3 separate regions of the Homo sapiens genome follow, and all the other regions are linked to region 1. The links are contacts of gene promoters, found by promoter capture Hi-C in blood cells and fetal thymus (Javierre and others, 2016). All regions are on one chromosome and are shown on one strand. The core of a region is centred on a gene start or on the middle of the fragment in contact, and the rest is flanking DNA. Distances in the headings are between cores, read along the strand shown. Region 1 holds the start of EIF4A1 (eukaryotic translation initiation factor 4A1). Region 2 holds the start of CTC1 (CST telomere replication complex component 1). Region 3 holds the start of TMEM107 (transmembrane protein 107).

What was found. The method cuts DNA at HindIII sites, captures the fragments that hold promoters and counts their contacts. A CHiCAGO score of 5 or more calls a contact.
Region 2: a contact is called between the fragment with the promoter of CTC1 here and the fragment with the promoter of EIF4A1 in region 1, in 1 of 17 cell types (naive CD4 T cells). The highest score is 5.2, in naive CD4 T cells.
Region 3: a contact is called between the fragment with the promoter of TMEM107 here and the fragment with the promoter of EIF4A1 in region 1, in 1 of 17 cell types (activated CD4 T cells). The highest score is 5.5, in activated CD4 T cells.

The regions. Positions count from the first base shown.
Region 1 is chr17:7,570,899-7,574,870 of GRCh38, forward strand. It overlaps EIF4A1 (eukaryotic translation initiation factor 4A1), which reads left to right and starts at 1,927. Exons shown (of 11, transcript NM_001416.4): 1 at 1,927-1,966; 2 at 3,362-3,410; 3 at 3,648-3,780. The coding sequence starts at 1,944. SENP3 (SUMO specific peptidase 3) reads left to right here. Exons shown (of 11, transcript NM_015670.6): 10 at 1-35; 11 at 475-1,071. The coding sequence ends at 585. SENP3-EIF4A1 (SENP3-EIF4A1 readthrough (NMD candidate)) reads left to right here. Exons shown (of 22, transcript NR_037926.1): 10 at 1-35; 11 at 475-581; 12 at 1,386-1,966; 13 at 3,362-3,410; 14 at 3,648-3,780. It overlaps SNORA48 (small nucleolar RNA, H/ACA box 48), which reads left to right and starts at 3,815; the gene lies at 3,815-3,949. RefSeq lists enhancers at 1,265-1,324, 1,355-1,404, 1,425-1,484, 1,605-1,674, 2,181-2,936 and 2 more and silencers at 1,845-1,904, 1,915-1,974, 2,875-3,014. The HindIII fragment of the contact is 10,998 bases long and covers 1-3,621 here.
Region 2 is chr17:8,245,334-8,249,305 of GRCh38, forward strand. CTC1 (CST telomere replication complex component 1) reads right to left here and starts at 2,723. Exons shown (of 23, transcript NM_025099.6): 1 at 2,671-2,723. The coding sequence starts at 2,703. PFAS (phosphoribosylformylglycinamidine synthase) reads left to right here and starts at 3,956. Exons shown (of 28, transcript NM_012393.3): 1 at 3,956-3,972. RefSeq lists enhancers at 2,520-2,659, 3,140-3,259, 3,384-3,972 and a silencer at 2,750-2,799. The HindIII fragment of the contact is 6,585 bases long and covers 1-3,972 here.
Region 3 is chr17:8,174,612-8,178,583 of GRCh38, forward strand. TMEM107 (transmembrane protein 107) reads right to left here and starts at 1,769. Exons shown (of 5, transcript NM_183065.4): 1 at 1,589-1,769; 2 at 1,348-1,415; 3 at 1,146-1,246; 4 at 1-5. The coding sequence starts at 1,675. LOC105371520 (a long non-coding RNA gene) reads left to right here. Exons shown (of 4, transcript NR_188261.1): 2 at 165-263. RefSeq lists enhancers at 1,157-1,206, 1,257-1,316, 1,308-1,919, 1,347-1,396, 1,557-1,646 and 3 more. The HindIII fragment of the contact is 13,203 bases long and covers 1-3,972 here.

The sequences.
Region 1 (3,972 bases), core at 677-3,176:
ATAATGACAGTGACTGTGGTGCTTTTGTGTTGCAGGTAAGCAGATGATGGGGCCACCTCCCCTAGCTCTGAAGTCAGTTGGGTTAAAGGGTCGGGAGGCTGTTATGCATCCCCTCATTTGGCTCATAGTCAGTTGTGGAGCAGGAAGTAATCTGTTTTAGAACACCAAAACACTGGCTTCACTGGTTCTCTTCTGGACTTCTCCATCCCACATTGGGACTGGGTCTCTAGTCTTGGGCCTCTGGCCTTCATAGAGCTCCCTGCTAACCTCCAACTCAGTGTATTTTCTCCATCTAAAACATTCTATCAAGTAAGAACACTAGCTTTAGAGTCAGGCTGTTTTTGAACCCCAGGCTGTGGGACCCTGGCTCCCTTTGGGGATGTTCTCTGAAGGATGGAGACACATCTCATATGAAATGTGTAGCACAGGTCCTGACACGGGGGGTTTCTCATGGCTTGCTTTGTTAACACCCAGTACTGCAAGCATCTGGCCCTGTCTCAGCCATTCAGCTTCACCCAGCAGGACATGCCCAAACTTCGTCGGCAGATCTACAAGGAGCTGTGTCACTGCAAACTCACTGTGTGAGCCTCGTACCCCAGACCCCAAGCCCATAAATGGGAAGGGAGACATGGGAGTCCCTTCCCAAGAAACTCCAGTTCCTTTCCTCTCTTGCCTCTTCCCACTCACTTCCCTTTGGTTTTTCATATTTAAATGTTTCAATTTCTGTATTTTTTTTTCTTTGAGAGAATACTTGTTGATTTCTGATGTGCAGGGGGTGGCTACAGAAAAGCCCCTTTCTTCCTCTGTTTGCAGGGGAGTGTGGCCCTGTGGCCTGGGTGGAGCAGTCATCCTCCCCCTTCCCCGTGCAGGGAGCAGGAAATCAGTGCTGGGGGTGGTGGGCGGACAATAGGATCACTGCCTGCCAGATCTTCAAACTTTTATATATATATATATATATATATATATATATATATATATATATATATATATATATATATATATATATATATAAAAATATATAAATGCCACGGTCCTGCTCTGGTCAATAAAGGATCCTTTGTTGATACGTAAGTGGTGGTCTTCCTTAAGGGGCTTCAAATTAGTGGATATGCTTAGCTCAGACCTTCCAGCCAGTCTCTTGAGACTAAAGGGTTCAGCTTTCCATCCCTGGCTCAGGCACTGCCAACACCTTGTCTTCACCCAAACAAATCCCCGAGATGGGAGCAGAGAGCAGGAAGGAGGGAAAGTAGATAAGCCTCAAGAATAAGGGCATCCGAGAGGGAAGCTGGGGAACTGGACACAAGGGACTGGGGAGGGGACCAACCAGGATTCATGATAGTACCCCAAAGCCCTTTACAGTTTTCTTCCATCCCTCCACCATCCAGCCAGGGGAATCCTCCCATCCCTACGATATCGCTGTTGATTCCTTCATCCCTGGCACACGTCCAGGCAGTGTCGAATCCATCTCTGCTACAGGGGAAAACAAATAACATTTGAGTCCAGTGGAGACCGGGAGCAGAAGTAAAGGGAAGTGATAACCCCCAGAGCCCGGAAGCCTCTGGAGGCTGAGACCTCGCCCCCCTTGCGTGATAGGGCCTACGGAGCCACATGACCAAGGCACTGTCGCCTCCGCACGTGTGAGAGTGCAGGGCCCCAAGATGGCTGCCAGGCCTCGAGGCCTGACTCTTCTATGTCACTTCCGTACCGGCGAGAAAGGCGGGCCCTCCAGCCAATGAGGCTGCGGGGCGGGCCTTCACCTTGATAGGCACTCGAGTTATCCAATGGTGCCTGCGGGCCGGAGCGACTAGGAACTAACGTCATGCCGAGTTGCTGAGCGCCGGCAGGCGGGGCCGGGGCGGCCAAACCAATGCGATGGCCGGGGCGGAGTCGGGCGCTCTATAAGTTGTCGATAGGCGGGCACTCCGCCCTAGTTTCTAAGGATCATGTCTGCGAGCCAGGATTCCCGGTAAGAAAGGCATTTGCAAGAGATTGTGGCTGCTTATTTTGCCGCCCCCTTCCGACGGGCCCGCCGGGGGTAGCTGAGAGGCCCACCAGGGTTGCGGGAGAAACCGAACCGGGTGGGGGGAGGGTCCGACTTGGAGGGGCGAGGGGGAAGACCCACGGCCGACGCGGCCACCAGGTCGAGGCGGAGGGTAGGGACAGCCCGGCTAGGGTCAGGCGTGCGAGGTCTGTTACGAGGCCTCGACCCGAGGCGGTGCCATGCGCGAAGCCCCGGCGCTGAGTGGCGAGACGGGGTCGCGACCTGGCGTGGGAAAGAAAGGTGGAGGCGGCCGCCACTATGTGTGGCCCAGAGCCGGCAGGTCCGGTTGCCTCCCTGTGCCGGGGGAGGGACGGCGCGCGGGGTTCCGGAGCATTCTGACGGTACCACTCGCGAGAGGCGGGGGTGCCTGGTCCTTAGATCCAGTCACTTCGTCGCGGCTAAAACACGGGTCGGGGAGAAGAAACCGGCCGTTCAGTGTGCTGGTTTTCTTGACGGCCAGGACTGAGCCTAACCCCGAGGAGCGGCCGCGTGAGGCACCAGGAGCCCACCCGGCGCCGGGCGGGCGGGTCCATTTTGCCGCACAAGCCGGGCTATTGGCAAACTGCGGATGGGCAGGTCCACCTTCCTTCGGGGGTGAGCGGCCTGAGGTATGGGAGGGCGACGCTACTTCGCGACGGGGGCGGGCGGGATGTGGATTGTTCATGGAGGGGTGGGAGACGCCGCCGGGTGGTCGAGGGAGCGAGCACATGGTGGCCTGAGGCGTTCCCCTCCCCCAGTCTGCTTCGCTTCTAAGTGTTGTGCAATCTCCCCCTTTGCTAGCTCGGCTTGGGCTCATTGTGCGCGAGGCCGCCACCGCCCGCGGCCTCCCACATCCGGGCAACGCGAGGGGGGGGCTTCGGCTGGAGGGAGTGGGGGAGGGCGCGGGCGGGATGACGTGGGGGGAAGGGGATGTCCTACCCTCCGATCTGGGAGGTGAAGGGCGGGACTTCCAGCGCGCTGGTGCTGCGGTGGGAGGTGCACGCGCTTGGGCTTTAAGCGGCTGGGTCGGGCCCACGTGGACCCGGCGGCAAGCACCACCTCTGGGCACCGTGAGCGCGGCGGCACGCCTGCCGGCCTGTCTTCAGAAAGGGTCACCCCCTTATGTCGGGGGTGGCCTGGCCTGAGCCGCTGCCTGCATGGGGCAAATGCCTCAGTTTTATAGAAACTCCTCCTTTGGGTATTTTTTGGGAGCTGGTGGGAGTTGGATCTGGGACAGCAGATTGATGGCATCATGCAGGCCACTCCTGACAGAGCCCGGCTGTCAGGATTTCTGAGTGCTTCGGTCGGGCAGGGGACAAAACTTATGCTTTAAACCAACAGATCCAGAGACAATGGCCCCGATGGGATGGAGCCCGAAGGCGTCATCGAGGTGAGACTGGAGAAATGGAATTCTGTCCTCCCCCATTACAACTTTCAGCCGTATAGAGTTAGAGTGGCCTCTTGATTGATTTCCCAGATCATCTAGAAGCAGCTGGTTTCCCTAAAGGGAGGAGGGTTGTAAGCTCTGAGGCTTTTGTTAGTAGGCACCAGATTCTGTTTGCTCGGAGACTACAGCTCAGCTCCACCTTTTCCATGACTCAAGCTTTAATTTCTTTGCATCCCCTAGAGTAACTGGAATGAGATTGTTGACAGCTTTGATGACATGAACCTCTCGGAGTCCCTTCTCCGTGGCATCTACGCGTATGGTTTTGAGAAGCCCTCTGCCATCCAGCAGCGAGCCATTCTACCTTGTATCAAGGGTGAGACCTCTCAGTCCCAGAAGACATTGTGGACTGTCCCTGACCTGGGTAGAGTGGCATCTGGTTGGTGATGCCCATCTCATATCAGCCAGGGACAAAGCAACTCCTTGTTCATCCCAGCTTGGCTTTTGATCCGTGCCCATGCCTGGTTCATGCCTTGGACACATAGGTTTCCTTTAAAGAGGTGGTATT
Region 2 (3,972 bases), core at 1,473-3,972, 680 kb after region 1:
TTCAGCATCCTTGTGGACAGCCCTACCACTGACTTTCAGCCCACTTCAGCCACACACTCATTCATGGTCAGAGTTGTGGAAGGCAGACCAAATCACCATTCAGAGTTGCCCCACCAGTATAAGCAAAGTTCCGACTCTCACGCTTTTTGTCTTCCTCTCCCAGTATTCTTTTGTAGTTCCTGTTTCTCGGATGGCCTATCCTTTGCTTGGTGCACTGAATACGACTGTCTCTCAAAGTGATCCCATGGCTTCAAGGTAAAATTACCTAAGTTTTGTTAAAAAGGCAAATTCGTGTTTTCATCTACTGAGTAAAAATGGAGCAGACTGGATGTGGTGGCTCTCGCCTGTAATCCCAGCACTCTGGGGGGCCAAGGTGGATCGCTCGAGCCCAGTAGTTCACTACTAGTCTGGGCAACAAGGCAAAGACCCGTCTCTACAAAAAAGAAAAATTAGCTGGGCATGGTGGCTCGTGCCTGTAGTCCCAGCTACTCGGGAGGCTGAGGTGGGAGGATCACCTGAGCCTGGGAAGGTTGAGACCCGCCTGGGCAACATGGTGAAACTCTAAAACAATTCAAAATTAGCTGGATTAGCCTGGCGTGGTAGCACATGCCAGTAGTCCCAGCTACTTGGGAGGCTGAGGTGGGAGGATCACCTTAGCCTGGGAAGGTTGAGACCCGCCTGGGCAACATGGTGAAACTCTAAAACAATTCAAAATTAGCTGGGTTAGCCTGGCGTGGTAGCACACGCCAGTAGTCCCAGCTACTTGGGAGGCTGAGGTGGGAGGATCGCTTGAGCCCAGGGAGGTTGAGGCTGCAGTGAGCCATGATGGTGCCACTGCACTCTAGCCTGGGTGACAGAGTAAGACCTTGTTTCAAAAAAAAAAAAAAAAAAAAAAAGGAGGGAGGAAGAGGAAGATCCAGATTAATACAGGCTGAAGTTTAAGAACACAATATGCTTTCCCACAATTATCTCAACCACTGCATGGGTTTAACAGCCATGGCCAGATGATGATTGTTCCTGTATGTCTACTTTAGCTGAGATCTCATTCCTGAGCTTTAGTCCTATCCATCTGCCAGACTCTCCATGGCCAATCCACAGGCAGCACACATGCCCAACACTGAACTTTCCACAAAACCCTGTCCTTTTCTAGAACTCTTCTAGTGTTATGTTCACTAACTTAGCAAATAGTACCCTTAACCAAACAGTTGTTCTATCCTGAAACCTAGATGTCCTCCTTAGCTCCTTCCTTTCCCTACATAGGTCCCAGTCCTGGCTGGGTGCAGTGGCTCACGCCTGTAATCCCAGCAGTTTCGGAGGCCAAGGCGGGCAGATCACGACGTCAGGAGATCGAGACCATCCTGGCTAACATGGTGAAACACCGTCTGTACTTAAAAAAAAGAAAAAAAATACAAAAATGAGCTGGGCATGGCGGCGCGTGCCTGTATGCCTGTAATTCCAGCTACTCGGGAGGCTGAGGCAGAAGAATCGCTTGAACCTGGGAGGCAGAGGTTGCAGTGAGCCGAGATCGCGTCACTGCACTCCAGCCTGGTGACAAAGCTAGACTCCGTCTCAAAACACACACACACACACACGCACACAAACCAATCCTTTAGATTGTATTTTCTTAACATCTTATTTATTTATTTATTTATTTATTTATTTATTTATTTATTTATTTGAGATGGAGTCTGGCTCTGTCGTCCAGGCTAGAGTGCAGTGGCGCGATCTCGGCTCACTGCAACCTCCACTTCCGTGGTTCCCTGCTCAGCTTCCTGAGCAGCTGGGATTACCGGCGTGTGCCACCACACCCAATTACCCTCATGTTAAAGTCGCTGCTTAGCAAGAGGTACAAAACTGTCAGCTCTGACCCCTCCACCACCACCCAACTGAACTTTTGAGTTTTTCAGACACCTGCTCTATCCTCCTGCCTTTGAATATGTGTTTGCTTCCGTCCTGAAACCCCTTCCGGCGCTTTTTTTTTTTTTTTTTTTTTTTTGACAGAGTCTCGCTCTGTTGCCCAGGCTGGAGTGCTGTGGCACAATCTCAGCTCACTGCAGCCTCCGTCTACCCGGTTCAAGCGATTCTCCTGCCTCAACCTTCTGAGTAGCTGGAATTACAGGTGCGCGCCACCACGCCCGGCTAATTTTTGTATTTTTAGTAGAGATGAGGTTTCACCATGTTGGTCAGGCTGGTCTCGAACTCCTGACCTCAAGTAATCCGCCCGCCTCCGCCTCCCACAGTGCTGGATTACAAGCGTGAGCCACCACACCCAGCCCCTTTCGGCGCTTTTTGCCTTCTACACGCACTTCGGGTCTCAGACGCTTTTACTTATTATGGTTGCCCTTTTCCCCTACAGCTCCGTCAAGGGTCTTCTCCAGGAACCCACAGCCCCATAGTTCCCCCATTAACCTGCTCCTGGTTTCCCACCAGGATTAAACCCTAGAGAGTGAACGGAGACCAGTTTAAGGCTCACAGCGGGCGCCGCGTGAATGAGGGAATAAACATTCGCAGAACCAGTAAGAGGTAGGAGCGGACCGACTCACAACCCCCTCACCCATGGGCCGGACGCGGCCAGCGAGCCCAGAGAGACAAGGCAGAGGAAATAGGAAGAGAAAGAGTATCTGTGACAAACAAGAAAAAAGGAACAAGAGACGTAATAGCAGCACTCACGGAGGAAGGGACCTGGGCCCGGCCAGCCGCCATGATGCGCCGGAGCTCCGCCCCCGGGAGGGGCAGGTGCTCGCTTGGGGGTGGGGATGGGGGTGGGGGGGCGCTCGGTGACGTCACCGGTGAGCGGGTTTCCTCGCCACCTCCAGCTCCTTCTCGCTGCTCACCCCCTCGCTTCCTAGAGACTCCGCGAGGCGCCTCGGTGCACCATCCCAACTCCCGACACCCCTGTCTCTTTTCTCTGATTTTTTTTTTTTTAAGACGAAGCCTGGTTCTGTCGCCCAGGCTGGAGTGCAGTGGCGCGATCTCGGCTCACTGCAACCCCCGCCTCCCAGGTTCAAGGGATTTTCCGGCCTCAGCCTCCTGAGTAGCTAGGATTACAGGCACCTGCCACCACCACGCCCGGCTAATTTTTTTTTTTTTTTTTTTTTTTGTATTTTTAGTAGAGACGGGGTTTCACCATGTGGCCAGGCTGGTCTCAAACTCCTGACCTCAGGTGATCCACCCGCCTCAGCCTCCCAAAGTGCTGGGATTACAGGCGTGAAACACAGCCCCTGGCCCTCTCTGATTTTTTTGAGACGAGGTCTCGCTCTATCGCCCAGGCTGGAGTGCAGCGGCGCCATCTCGGTTCACTGCAGCCTCGACCTCCCGGGCTCAAGCGATCCTCCCACCTCAGCCCACCAAGTAGCTGGGATCGCAGGCTTGCACCGCCACACCCGGCTAATTTTTGTATTTTTCTGTAGCGACATGGTTTCGCCATGTTGCCCAGACTGGTCTCGAACTCCTGGGCTCAAGCGATCTGCCCGCCTCGGGCTCCCAAAGTGCTCGGATTACAGGCGGGAGCCACCGCGCCCAGCCTCCGTCTCCCTCCTAAGTGACATCCTGTCCGGCATCCCGCAGGCCTTCAGATGGATGGGGTAGCAGAGCTCAGGAACTCAAACACAGCCCGCCTGGTGGATGACTTCTAAGCATCTTTCAGTCTCCCTGATCTTGCCAAGCAGAGAAGGGCTTCCTCGTAATGCCACCAAAGCACAACTTTCACATGCTTGCTTTATGGCCTTAACTAACTGATGTCATTACTTAACTGTCCCCGCGGGGACGGGGAACTGAATGTATTTTCACAAACGTCAGTTCAAGACAGATTTGTGGGAGAAACCACCTGGGGATAAACCTCTCCCCACCAAGAACCTAGAATTCGGCCGGGTGGCTGGGGAAAAGTGGGCGGGGCGTAGTCGCCCCGGCGCTGGCAGGTCCAGTCTCTGCCCGCGGCGCACGCGGATGACGTAACAAACGCGCGCGACGATT
Region 3 (3,972 bases), core at 519-3,018, 600 kb after region 1:
AATGGCTTGGGAAGGCACGAGATTAAGGAAAGTCTTTGGATCGACAGACAGTGATGGGTCAGAAAAGGCCAGTGGTGGGGCTGGCATCTGCATTCAGGTTCATCCCTTGCTCCCTCACCATGTTTCAAGGGCTAGAGTCAGCAGCTCTGACTTCTGAATTTTAGGACAGTCATGTGAGGAGAGACCAGAAGTGACTGCACAGATCGGACCTCAGGCTACCCTACCCCTTATCTGTGGGCCAGCCTGGATCCTTCAGATGAGAGGTAAGAGTAGGCTCTCCTTCTGCTATGCCACAAAGGAGTGCTGACAGCGACTTAATATGCGCTGGAATCAGCCTCCAGTGTCCTGGTCCTCCTGGTCCACAATTCTCTGACCCATGTGCCTCATCTCCTTTGCCTCTTCTGAGTTCCCAGTGCTCGCTTCCGTTGCCTCTTCTGAGTTCCCATTGTGCTTTATATCTTTTGTTTGTTTTTTGACAGAGTCTTGCTCTGTTGCCCTGGCTGGAGTGCAGTGGCACGATCTCAGCTCACTGCAACCTCTGCCTCCCGGGTTCAAGCAATTCTCCTTCCTCAGTCTCCTGAGTAGCTGGGATTACAGGAGTGCGCCGCCACGCCCGACTAATTTTTGTATTTTTAGTAGAGACGGGGGTTTCACCATGTTGGTCAGGCCGGTCTCGAACTCCTGACCTCAGGTGGTCCACCTGCCTCGGCCTCCCAAAGTGCTGGGATTACATGCGTGAGCCATCGCGCCCTGCCTGTGCTTTCTATCTTCACACACTTCTATAGCACAGTGCTTATCACACTGAATTACAGATTTGTATCTACCTCCTCCTCATTGTAAAAAGAAACGGTGGGGTTTTTATTATTCCTATTATTTTTGTAGACTTGGGTTCTCACTATGTTGCCTCCTGCCTGCGCCTCCCACAGTGCTGGGATTACAGACGTGAGCCAACATGCCTGGCCAAAAACTGTATTTTACTCTCATTTTGGGATTTTAAGTGCCTAGTAAACAGCAGGATTTAGCACATCGTTGAAGATCTTTGAACTGGAAGGATTGGCTACAGCAGACACTATTGTGTCAGGTGGCTGAAGGGAGTCCTGATAGAAGTGGGTCGTGTGGGAAAGGTGGGCAGGCAGAAAGGATACAGATGAGGCTCTGGGTGCTGTTGAACATGGAGACTCCTGAGAGGAAACCGGCCAGCTCCACTGCAAAGAGGCCCAGGGTGACAGAGAGCGCGGCCACCAGCCTGCAGAGAGGAAGTGGACTGGCCCAGGCCTTTGGACTTATTCTAAGACCCCTCCACTCCCACCACCTCTTCGTTCTGGCCACCCCGTCCCAAGAGCTCACTGAATGTCCTGCTTGTCATACTCCTCGGGGGTGAACGTGAGAGGCAGGCAGGCCTGTATGTTGCTGTCCTGGGAGCAGGGCACAGGAAGAGAAGTGAAAAAGGGGCAGGCTGCAGGGCAGGCCTGGGGGCGGCGGGAAACAAGAAAACCCAAGAGGGTAAGACACTGGGAGGGGGCAGGGTAGGACTAGGACCACTCAGAGATGGGAATGGGGACGGATTGAGTGCAGCCGTGGGTCTTACCCGGGACCAGAATAAGGTGATGACGACCACCAGATGCGCCAGGAGCGTCAGGAAGCGAGAGGGCACAAGCCCTGAGACCCGGCCCATGGCCCTCGGGGACAAGGGCGGCGGTCTCTGAGGCTGGAAGTTCAGAGACAGCGACTCCTGAAGTCTCCCCGCAAGCCGACAAATCTAGACGAACGCCTCCTTCCCGCCCGCTCAGGCACCGCCCAGTTGCCTTGGTAACCGTGTACGCGGGCTCGGCGCCGCGTTCTCGGAAATCCTCGCGAGCAGTACATTCTCCGGCTGCTGCGGGTCTCTCAGGGCCAGCGAAGGTCAGGGGTACCCGAAGGCGCTTCTAACCTAACGGCTGGGTACCCGCGCGCAGCCAGGCCCTTTGTTCCTCAGAGGGTGCGAGGTGGCACAGCCCCGCAGCGCCCGATCTGCCCACGCAGGGCGGATGAACGGAAACCCACCCTGGCCTAGCTTGGGGACACCAATGCTTCTGCTGTTGCCCACGCCGGGAGCGGCCCCCAGCCCCAGCTACGCTGCCCAGTTGTGGATCACTTGAGACCGCTGCCACCACCACGCCGGGCTGAGTTCCCCGCCATGCCGAAGACTCAGACCCGCTCCCCTTCCCCTCCTCTGCATGCCTTTAGCTTCCCACCAAGCTGGGCCTGAGAAACAAGGGACCCGAACCTGGAGAGGCCGGTGTTCCTGGACTGCTCTGCAGTCACAGATTGTCACGGAGCCCCTGGTTGTCTGAGGACCCCAGGCCTGAACCTTCCTTGAGGAAGACTGATTTCTTTCAGACTACTTTGCTCAGTTTGGTGAGGGATTTGCAGAGTGCAAAAAATGGCCAGCGTCCTTAAACTAGCATGGGGATAAGAGCAGAGCAAGGTGGCTGGAAAGAGTGGGAGTGGACGAAGGGAATGGGACAGTCCCTGCGTCTCTGGGAGGCTTGGAGCCGGCTGGAAGGGAAACTCAACTCAGATTTCTTTGTCCCTTGGAGGTGCTGGGCCTCCGACATTGCCCAGCTACAGTCCAAGAAGCTCTTATCATCGGCGACCTCATGACCTTTGGGCCTCAGCGCAGGTCCCTGCAGATCTGAAAGTTCTTTAATTGCTGAGTCAAGTCCCATCCTCAAGGAACCTCCCGGCCCATCTCCCAGGAGAACAATCTCTTCCTACTCCCCACTCCCCATCTCAGTGCTTTTAGCCAGCCTAAACTACAAGCCCAAGAGGCATTTCTCATTCCTTCAACAAATATTTGTATATGTTTATTGATTACCTAGTAAGGGTATTCTAGTCAGGGAGATCAACAACAGACATGCAAACAAATAAATCCGTAAGATAATAGGCGCTACAAACAGGGAAAAGCGGGCTGTGCACTGTGGCTCACACCTGTAATCCCAGCGCTTTAGGAGGCCTAGGAGGGCGGATCACCTGAGGTCAGGAGCTCGAGACCAGACTGACCAACATGCTGAAACCCTGTCTCCACTAAAAATACAAAATTAGCCGGGCGTGGTGGCGCGTGCCTGTAATCCCAGCTATTCGGGAGGCTGAGGCATGGGAATCGCTTGAACCCAGGAGGTGGAGGTTGCAGTGAGCCGAGATCGCGCCATTGCACTCCAGCCTCTGCAACAAGAGCGCAACTCCGTCTCCAAAAAAAAAAGAAACGCTAGAATTATAATTCTATAAAAATAGGGCATTTATAATTCTATTAAAATAGAGCATTTATTTTGTTTTATTTTATTTATTTACTTTTTCTGAGACGGAGTCTCGCTCTGTCTCCCAGGCTGGAGTGCAGTGGCGCAATTTCGGCTCACTGCAAGCTCGGCCTCCCGGGTTCACGCCATTCTCCCGTCTCAGCCTCCTGAGTAGCTGGGACTACAGGCGCTCGCCACCATGCCCGGCTAATTTTTTGTGTTTTTAGGAGAGACGGAGTTTCACTGTGTTAGCCAGGATGGTCTCGATCTCCTGCCCTCGTGATCCGCCAGCCTCGGCCTTGCAAAGTGCTGGGATTACAGGCATGAGCCACCGCGCCCAGCCGGACATTTAACCTTAAACTTTATTTTAGAAACTTTGGCCAAAAATTGGCCGGGAGCGGTGGCTCAGGCATGTAATCCCAGCACTTTGGGAGACCGAGGCAGGGAGATCACCTGAGGTCAGGAGTTTCAGACCGGCCTGGCCAACATGGTGAAACCTCATCTCTACTGAAAAAAAAAAAAAAAAAAAAGTTAAAAAGTTAGCCAGGTGTGGTGGCGCCCGCCTCTAATCCCAGCTATTCCAGAGGCTGAGGGAGGAGAAGTGCTTGAACCCGGGAGGCAGAGGTTGCAGTGATCCAAGATCGTGCCACTGCACTCCCGCCTGGGAAACAGACCAAGACTTCGTCTCAAAAAAAAA